Regions from separate parts of the Homo sapiens genome. Here region 2 is linked to region 1. The links are contacts of gene promoters, found by promoter capture Hi-C in human tissues and cell types (Jung and others, 2019). All regions are on one chromosome and are shown on one strand. Each heading gives the region's core, a stretch centred on a gene start or on the middle of the fragment in contact. The rest is flanking DNA. Distances are from core to core; before and after follow the strand shown. Region 1 holds the start of KCNG1 (potassium voltage-gated channel modifier subfamily G member 1). Region 2 has its middle 3.1 kb from the start of NFATC2.

The links. Contacts are between HindIII fragments. The study calls those that stand out against the background at their distance.
Region 2: a contact is called between a fragment that was not itself captured here and the fragment with the promoter of KCNG1 in region 1, in 1 of the 25 tissues and cell types used here (lymphoblastoid cells).

Annotation. Positions count from the first base shown.
Region 1 is chr20:51,020,452-51,025,346 of GRCh38, reverse strand. KCNG1 (potassium voltage-gated channel modifier subfamily G member 1) reads left to right here and starts at 2,240. Exons shown (of 3, transcript NM_002237.4): 1 at 2,240-2,477. RefSeq lists a silencer at 2,142-2,311 and an enhancer at 4,036-4,599. The HindIII fragment of the contact is 10,697 bases long and covers 106-4,895 here.
Region 2 is chr20:51,543,404-51,548,298 of GRCh38, reverse strand. It overlaps a transcript of NFATC2 not described here. Among named protein-coding and RNA genes, the nearest start is that of NFATC2, 3.1 kb to the right of the region's middle. The HindIII fragment of the contact is 6,107 bases long and covers 1-4,895 here.

The DNA.
Region 1 (4,895 bases), core at 991-3,490:
GTTCAAAACTAGCCTGGCTAACATGGTGAGACTCCGTCTCTACTAAAAATACAAAAATTAGCTGGGCATGGTGGCACACACCTGTAGTCCCAGCTACTCAGGAGGCTGAGGCAGGAGAATCGCTTGAACCCAGGGGGATGGAAGTTGCAGTGAGCTGAGATCACACCACTGCACTCCAGCCTGGGAGACACAGAGAGACTATGTCTCAAAAAAAAAAAAAAAAAAAAAAATTTCAGATGGGAAAGGAAGGCAGAAGCCTGATCCACCACAAGAGGAGTGTTTCTCAATATGTAATCCAGGGACCCTCTGACAACAAAAGCCCACCCCACCCCACTCAGGCCCCTCCCCCACACTGCTGGTTGGTCTCTTTGATGTTTCTCAGACATGCCTCCTTCTCTCCTGCTTGAAGGCCAGTGCCTTTGATGTTCTGTCCACCTAGAAAGCTCTCTTCCCATCTTGCCAGATGGGCTCCTTCTGGCTCAGGGCTCCATGTAACCATCACCTCCACAGGAGCCCTCCCCCATTATTCTATCTAAAGTGGCCTCTCTGGCTTCATTCTGCAATCACGTATTTCAGCAGTTTCCCAATTCTGCCAAGCCCCCAGTAGAAGGTGAGCTCTTGGAAACAGGTCCTTAGGCAGATCCTTGTCTGTCCAGGCCTCCACCTCACCAGTAAGCCAGTGTTTTTATTCTTGTTGTTTTAGAGGCTGGATCTCGCTCAGTCACGCAGGCTGGATTGCAGTGGTGCCATCATAGTGCACTATAACCTGGAACTCCTATGCTCCACCCGGCTGGGACTGCCGCGCAGGCTAGTGTGCCCTGCGCTCATTTCTTAGGGTTAACCCTAACCCACTTAATGAGCACCCACGACTCCCCAACCCGAGCCCCACTCAAGCAGAAGGCCTCAGGCTGGTCGGCAGCAGGGTTTCTTCATGTCCTTTCTTGGTTCTCTGATGATAGGCAAAGGCAGTAGAGACAGAAAGGAAAAGAGGAACGGAGTGCAAGAGACAGAAAGGAGAAGAGGAACGGAGTGCAAGAGACAGAAAGGAGAAGAGGAACGGAGTGCAAGGCAAGCCACCCTAAGAGGCCAGCCCTGCCAGCAGCACAGATCCCTCCAAACCAATAGGTCCCTCCAACTCAGTAGATTCCTCCAACCCAATAGATCCCTCCAACCCAACCTCCAGCATCTGTGCAGCATCCTACCAACTCCGAGGCTAGGCGGCCACACTGGGAGCAAGACCCCAGGACCTGGTCCAAGTGCCCTGCACCGGCCAGGGGAGTGGACGACGAAGTGCGGCTCTGCTAGCCCGGGAGGGCTCTGGGGCCTCGGCCCCGCGGGACTGGAAGGGAAAACACCTGGCACGGTACGTACTGGCCCTAGGAATTTGGCACAGCAAGATGCTGGCAGTCCCTGGGTGGCGGTGGCAGGAAGGGCCCAAGGGCAACATTGGTCTAGGAGGTCGAGAAAAGGCGCGCGATATATGGCCCCCAGGATGTGGAAGCTTGCTTGGAGCGTTCGGCTCCAGGGCAGCAGCGCGTGGAGGGCCTCAAGGATGCAGTATTTGCCCGGGGTAGGGGGGCGAGGGACCCAGAGGCAGCAGTGCACTTGGACTTCCAGGACTTCCAGGGAAAGGCAGGAGACATGGCGCATGTGGTTCCCAGGATGTGTAAGCGCGTGGAGCGCGGCCCCGGGGCAGCGGAGAGTGGGGTTTTAATATCTAGCACATGTAGACCCTGGGGCGGTGCTGCTAGGGGCGCGGACCCGGGACCACCGGAGCACTTGCACCGCGGGGAAAGCTGACAGGGCGCGCGACCCTAGGAGGCTGCCGCGCCGCCTGGTGCGTGAAGCTCCAGGGCAGCGGAGCGCGGGGACCTTGAAGGCTGTCGCGTGCAGGCGAAGGGGCCGCAGGGTGGTCGCTCCTGGGAGAGCAGACGGGGAAGAAGGCAACGGGAGGGAGGGCGTAGCGCGAGCAGTCCCGGACGCGGGCTCAGGAACTGGCCGCGAGGAGCGCAATCCAGCAGGCGCGCCAGGGCCCCCGGATCCAAGGTGCGGGGTCCCGATTGGGCGCCTGGACGCCCCGTGACGGTGGCGCCGCTGCCACTGTCCCGAAGCGAGGCGAGGCCAGGCGCTGCGCTTTCGGCTGCCCGCCCCTTCTCCCCGCCCCGCGCTCAGTCCCCTCCCTCCGTCCCGCCTCCTGCCTCGCTCCCTCCCTCGGCGGCTGCTGCGCCGCGCTCCCGGCGCACTCGGAGCCCGGCGGGGACCGGGAGGCAGAGACGGGGCGGCCGTGGCTCCGAGGGCGGGAGCTGAGCCGGGCCCCGGGACCGAAGTTTGGCGGCGGCTCCGGGAGGCAGAGCGGGCTCCCCGGGCGACTTCCAGGCCCCTCTCGCGTCCTCGCCCCGGACCCGTGGGCAGCCGGGGGGAACGGAAGCCGCGGCCGGGCCAACTCCGAGGCGGGGACGCCGCGACGGGAACTTGAGGTGGGAACTTTGCGCGCTGCAGCCTCGCCGGGCGCCACCGAAGCGCGAACCGGACCCCGAGCCTGCAAACTCGGGCTCGGGGGCGGCTGCACGTGGCCGTGGCCCTGAACTCCCTGCGGGGGCCTCGAAACCCGCCTGCGGGGAGGCCAGGGCGACAGAGGACTCGGGAGTCACCGCTGGTGCGTGGCGGCGTGGAGCGCGCTTGTTACGGCCAAGGTGCGGGTCCGGCTTCGGTTCATCCCAAGGGGTCACCGGGATGCGAAGTCCGGGACGTTCGCCGCCGCGGTGACCCCGGCGGGGGCGCATCCCGGCTGTGGGCCGAGGTTTCTCCCCCGATCCTGGGAGGAAGGAGAGTTAGGGATTGGGGTGGGGGAGTGTGTGTCACTTGCTCATTCACTGTATCCTTAGGCACAGTATGGAGCCCCCCTTCACCCCCACCGTGGGCCTGATTGAGTCATTCATTATGAACACAGCAAGCGTTTATTGAGCGCCTACTGTGTGCTAGGCACTGGGGATACTGAGACAGTTCACTGGGCACCCCCAGGAACTGGTAGGAAGGTGGTGGTCTCAGCCTTAGGGTTTCCATGTGGGAGAGAGGCTCAGCCCGGAGGTATGGAAGGAAAAGGGTGAAGTTCATTCATTCATTCATAGATTGGACAAAGATTGGTTGAGCACCTATTGTAAGCAGCTCATCATACCAAGCGCTCAACAGTCATTCATCCAGTTCACAAACATTTATGGAGGCGCTATGCTGGGGAGAAGTGAAGAGGGATGGAATGGGGGCACCCTTCATGCAGCTTAGAGAGAAGTAAGGATTAAGACCCAGGCCCCCGCTTGGGAGGCCGCAGACTGCCGGGGTGGCCAACTGTAGCAGCCCATGTATATAGGCAGAAGTCTTGGTTCATCTAATGCATTCCTTCTCAAGGTGGGAGGTGTGGAAGCTGGAATTGGTTCTAGAATAGGAAGAAAAGATCTTTTCAAAGCTCCTTAGGGGCGGGTGATGGGGTAGGGTGGGGAGGAGTTGAGAAACACTGATCCGACATTACTGAGGAATGCAGGTTCCCACCAATGGGGTTTATGAGTTAGGTTGTCCATTCAGCAGGCATTTTCTTAAGCACTCGCTGTTATTAAGCACTTAAAGGGTGCCAGGCACCAAAGTTACCCAGGTAAATGACAGACACATAGAAGAGGGAGACAGACACAGACGCCCCCACCCCCTTTGCTGACTCCCTGAGATAAGTACAGGGGGAAGTAAGAGGAGGGAGCAGGAACTGGTCTGATTCATTGTGGGGTGGGGGAAGTTCCTGCCCTATGAATCTGAGCAGAGGTTTATTCATTAGTGTGTGTTTGATACCCCCATACCCATGATGGCAGAGTCCCTATGAAGAGCCTCACCGGCAGCACATCTCCAAGAAAAGTTTGGCACTGCTGATTGGGGCCTTGCGGTCGGCACTGTGGCTAGGGCATGCTGTCCTTCTTTGGGGGATTTTTCAGGCTCTGCCAGACCTGAGCTCTATTTGTGCCTCCCCCGGCTTTTGGAGCCCTGCAGAGTCGCCTGATAGGAGGGGAAGGAGGGAAGGTGTGTTTGAAAAACAGGCAAGCGCTGGCCCCTGGGGATCACCCTCCTCAGTCATTCTCGAAGCCAGCCCGTTCCACGGGAAAGATGTCTGTCCTGGGACACACTCCTAACCTGCAGGGAACTGCAAGCACACTGGAAACGAGGCAACCTAGGTTCTTCTCCTGAGACTTGAGAGCCCAGGCCCGCAGCCTACAGCCTGGGTTGTCAAACCTTGGGAGTAAAAAAATCAACCAAACCCCTAGTTTTGCCAAACTCTGGGTTGCCTTTTTGGCCTCTGGGAGGGAGATGTGACATGGGAGGCAGAGGTTACTTGCTTCTCCCCATCCCCAAAGACTTTCCCGAAGCTTGTCCTGGAGCCTGATTGGGGCAGATCTGAGCACCACTTTGAATTCTCTGCACCAGACCCACAGCTGGGCTCTGGCAAGAGGTGAGGGAGGTGCCTCAGGAAACAGAAGAACAAAGAGATGTGTGCTGGATGCAGGGCTAAGCGACGCAAACCAGCTCCGAGGAACTCACCTCCTGGAGCCGCAGTAGGTACCTTGGCTCGGCTGTCCTTTCTCCACCCTGCTTTCCAATGTTGATGAAGAGTCAACATTGCCTGTTGCCAGAGGTCTAGGGGTACAGGAATCTACCCTTGGTTGTTGCATTAAGCCCAGAAATGGAGCCTGTGGGTGAAAAATGGCAGCTGGTAAAGCCCCTCTAAATAGAATTAATAAAAAGGGAGAGGCGAAGAACCTAGCTGAAGCACTCCATTGCTGTGGACCATTTTTATCATCCAGCAGACTGTATTTGATTAACGAAATCAGAAATGAAGTGACTTTGCTACAAATAGGATCTGA
Region 2 (4,895 bases), core at 1,162-3,661, 520 kb before region 1:
GACAGGCAGGGAAGGTCTCTAACAGGTGACTTTTGAGCTGTGAAATGAACAAAGTAAGGTAGTGGCCAGGCAATATCTGAGGGAACAGTAAGTACAAAGGCCCTGGGGTGGGGTCATGTGGGCGTTATCAAGGAACAGGCGGACGATCAGGGTGGCAGAGGGAGTAAGAGAAGGGGAGAATGGCAGGAGATGATACCCAAGGAGAGTCAGGTGGGACGTAGCTTACGTAGGGCCTTGCAGACCAAGGGCTTTGTATTTAATTTTAATTTAATGGGAAGCCACTGGAGGGTTTATCAGATGTATATTTTTTAAAGGCTCCCTCTGGTTGCTCCACATAGGGGCAAAAGTAGAAGTAGCAAGTCCAGGGAGGAGGCTTCTGCAGTTGTCCAAGTAAGAAATAATGAAGGCCTGAATTCTTGGGAGGTGGGAGGAAGAACAGTGAAGTTAGTGAGAAATGGGTGGCTTTGGGTTACATTTGGTGCAACTGCCTGCTTTTGCTGAGGGTTTGCACGTGGGCATGAGAAAAGGCGAGGACTCAAGAACCACTCTTTGGTGTTTGATTGGAGAACTGGATTACAGGCAGAGCAATACTTGAGTTGAGGCACAGTGAGGCAGGAACAGCTGGAGACGTAGGGTTTGGTTTTGGACACATTCACACTGAGGTGCCTGTTAGATGCTCCCGTGGAGATGTTGGGTCGTCATTGGATATACAAGCCTGGATTTCTGTGGAGAGGCCCAGGTTGTAGATAAAAATGAGCTTTCTACCAGAAGGTGGAAAGGAAGGCAGAGCTGTAGGTGGTGGGTAACTCCAGGGCCATCTTGAAGCAGCCTGGGGACGCAGAGCCACCTTGGGTGGTAGGAGGAGCTTCTTGAAGGCGTTTCGGGAGTCAGTGCTTCTTGACTGTTTCTATCCAGGTGGACCCAAATTATGCTCCATTTTAAGGAAGCCTAGAAGAGGAAGAGAGGTAACTCACAGAGGGACCAAAGGATGACAGTCTATGAGTCTTGTGAATCCTTCCACATTTTCTTATCTCTATGGCTACCACTTGTCTCTGTAGTCTACGCCCCCATTATCTCTTTCCTGGACGGCTATAAGAACCATCTACTTGGTCCTCCGGCTTCAACCCTTGCCCCTGCAATTTCTCATCCTCAGAGAACCCAGAGCCATCATCTAAAAACTCGTCTATGATTCTGTCATGTGCTGCCTAACACTCTCCAGTTGTTCCCAATTGCTTTCAGGTCCCAAACTCTCAACATGGTCTCCTGGGCCCCACTTACCTCCCAGCCTGATCTTACACCATCTTCTCATCCTTCCCTGAGCACCTGCCACTCCTGTCTTCTTTCGGGTCCTCCATCGTTTCATACTTTCCTCCTGCCTCAGAGCCTTTACACATACTCCCTCATCGCTCTGTTAGTACCTCCCCTCATCATTCCCTAACTAACTTCTACCAACCTTCCAGTCCCAGCTTAAACATCGCCTCCCTAGGGCAGCCTTATCTGAATTCCCTGTCTACGTCAGGTTTCCTTGACATAAGCTCTGTAACACATTCTCCTTGCCTTTCACGGCACATACCTCAGTCTGTAATTAGACTGTGGGTTAAGTGCATGTTGAAGGGAGCTGAGTTCCTGGGCCAGGGTCAAATAGTACCAATGTGTGCTAGAAGTTTCAAAGTCTCAGTGGCTTCACTAGCTTTCTGTTGCACTTCGGTTGGAGAGGCTGGGGAAAAACTCAGAGGCCAGGGTGTCCAAAGGAGGTCAGACACAGGATAGAGAGAAAGTTGACAGCGATGCCCTGTGAAGATCACCATCCCACCTCCATCCCTCCACCTCCCAGAGTCACTCTCGATGCATAAAGCTCATGCATTCTGCTCCTGGACCTTGTTCCTAAGAGCACAGATTATTTATTTTTGAATTGAAAATATGCCTTTCCCCCAGCCCAAACTCCCACCCTTCAAGGTAACCTTTAGGGAAGAAGACCCTTTTACTCCCCACTGTCCAGCAGAAACTCTTTTATGGGTTGGCACCTAGTCTGAAGCACTTCCTTTTAAAGAACTCTGACTACAATAGTCCAGACTCCAAATCCTAGAAGCTTTGAAAATATATCCACTGTTCAGAGGGACAACAAAGGCAGTTAGACTGTCCTGAACGGTCCTGCCTCAGGCTGAAATTTTTGTAGCACTTGATCAGTTGCAAAGTGATCTTCCCTTTAATATCTCATTTTATCATTGGGTATCTGAAGAGGAAGTGGAATTGGGGTAAGAATTTAGGTTCTTGCCATAGCATTTGGGTGGCCAGGGTAAGCCTCAGGGTGGAGGACCCTTAAAGAAAACTCTAAGGATTTTAAGGAGAGTCAAACTCTACATTCATCCAGGCAAACATCTACTCTTCCATTGATTAATGGATCCACTCATCCGTGCAACACATTCACTCTTTCATCCATCCATTCATCCATCTATCCTCCATCAATCCATCCATGTATCTTTCATTCATCCATTTATCCATTTATCCTCCATCCATCCGTCCATCCACCCTCCATCCACTCCTCCATCCATCATCCATCCATTCTTCCATCCATCCCCTATCCATCCATCCACCCATCTATTCATCCATCCACCCATCTTCCATCCATGCATCCATCTTCCATTCACCCATCCATCAATCCATCCCCTATCCATCCATCCACCCATCTATTCATCCATCCATCCATCTTCCATCCATGCATCCATCTTCCATTCACCCATCCATCAATCCATCTACTTATCCATCCTCCATTTATCCACACATCCATTGCACATAAAGCTGCGAATGAGGTGGTCATAGCCCCTGCCTTAGTGGATCTCAGGCTAGTTAGTGGAGATAAAATTCTCTGATTGGCGCAGTCTGGGTCATTCATCCACTTCGTTGCTTGGGGAAGGTGGGGCAGCTGGGTTGATAGCTCTACCAAGATTATGTTTAGAGTAGTTTCCCCAAGGAACACACTGGGGTGCTGTTATGAGAAGAAGGGAGGAATTATTCTGGGTAGGCACAATCAACAAATGTCCACTAGATTTAGTGGCACTTAATAATTATGGGATGGAGGGACGAGAAAGGATGTGGGGAGGCATTCCTAGCTTTTCTCCTTTTCTAAATCACAGGGGAAGCCTGGTTTTCTTGTTTATTGGCCAAAATTTCATCATCTGGACCTTGGGTCCCTGTCATAAGGACCCAGAAGAATCCATCTCTTTCTAGATACCTGTCTATAAGTATCCTAGCTGGGGTCTTCACTCTTCCTTCCTCCACCTAAATGCATCAGCTGCCCCCAAGATGCTTGTTGGATACACATGGCACAGAAGTGCTTATAGTTAGGAAACAAAGGCTGGAATTTCTTTATGCTCTGACAACCAGGAGGTGCTGCCCAAGACTCTGAAATGATTCCTGAGCCAGCCCCCAGGCCCCTGCAGTAGAGTTTGAGTCTAAACCAAAGTGGTTCTCATCTCTGGCCACACATTGGAAGCATCTGGTGAGCTTTTACAAAATACTGATGCCTAAGTCCCAACCCCAAACATTCTGATCAAATCGATGTCTGGTGGTGCTCAGGTCGTTGAATACAAATTTTAACAGCTCTCCAGGTGATTCTAATGTGTAGTCTGGGTTAAGAACCACTGGTCTGAGTGCAATTTTGAAAACCCCGTTCATAACTGTGCTACTTTGCTTTCAGGGCATAAGCATGATGAAGGGAGAGGCTGTGGCTTGTTGATGGTTGCATCCCCAACATCTTGTGGCAGTGCCAGGCAGGTGCTCAATAAATATTTGTGGAATGATGGATGGCTTGGCACAAATCCCCTTAATGGAGCTGAGATGGCTCCCCTGAAGAATGCGTGTCCTCAATTCCTCCTGGCACATGGGGAAGGATTCGAATCACTTGAGGTCAAGCTGTGGTTCTCACGAGGATCTTAAGACCTCTCCCGTCTAATCTTCTCATCCTCAACACTGGCTGCACCTTAGATTCATCTGAAGTTTAAAAAAATTTTCAGGCCGGGCGTGGTGGCTCACACCTGTAATCCCAGCACTTGGGGAGGCCGAGGCGGGTGGATCACGAGGTCAGGAGATCAAGACCTTCCTGGCTAACACAGTGAAACCCCATCTCTACTAAAAATACAAAAAAGTAGCCAGGCATGGTGGCTGGCGCCTGTAGTCCCAGCTACTCGGGAGGCTGAGGCAGGAGAATGGCGTGAACCCAGAAGGCAGAGCTTGCAATGAGCCAAGATCGCGCCACTGCACTCCAGCCTGGGCGACAGAGCGAGACTCCGTCTCCAAAAAAAAAAAAAAAAAAAAAAAAAAAAATTAGGAATTCTGCTTCAGTGGGTTTGGATTGCAGCCCAGCACGGGAGTTTAAAAAGGTGTCCCAGGTGATTCTAATATGTGGGAAGGGTTGAAGACCACTGTTTTGATCTTTTCTACCTCTGTGAGTCTGTTTCCAACTTCAGCTAAGTTGGTGGAGCCCCCTGGCAGAGTTTTATTGGAGGGTGTTCTTTAGTTACTGGGTCCTTATGCAGTGTTTGCCAAATGTACCTGTTCATTAATGCTCACGTTGGGTGCTTAATTAAAAATACACATTCACGAGTCTGTATTCAGACTTATGGAATCAGAAGCTCCAGGGAGGGGCCTGGGAATCATGCTTTAAACAAGCAGCCAGGCGTGTTTGTCACTTGCCAACCGCCCCATCAGAACTGTACTCCTCGTTCTCCCTCCAGCACACCCAGCCCCTTCGAGCTCTGGCTCTGTGTTTTGGTTCTCACTGCCAGAACACACTTCCCCAAGATCGCCTCATCAATCAGGTTTCTTCAAATGTCACCTCCTCAGAGAGGTCCTCCTTGACCACCCAAGGGACTAAAGCCACCCCAACCTTTATCCCA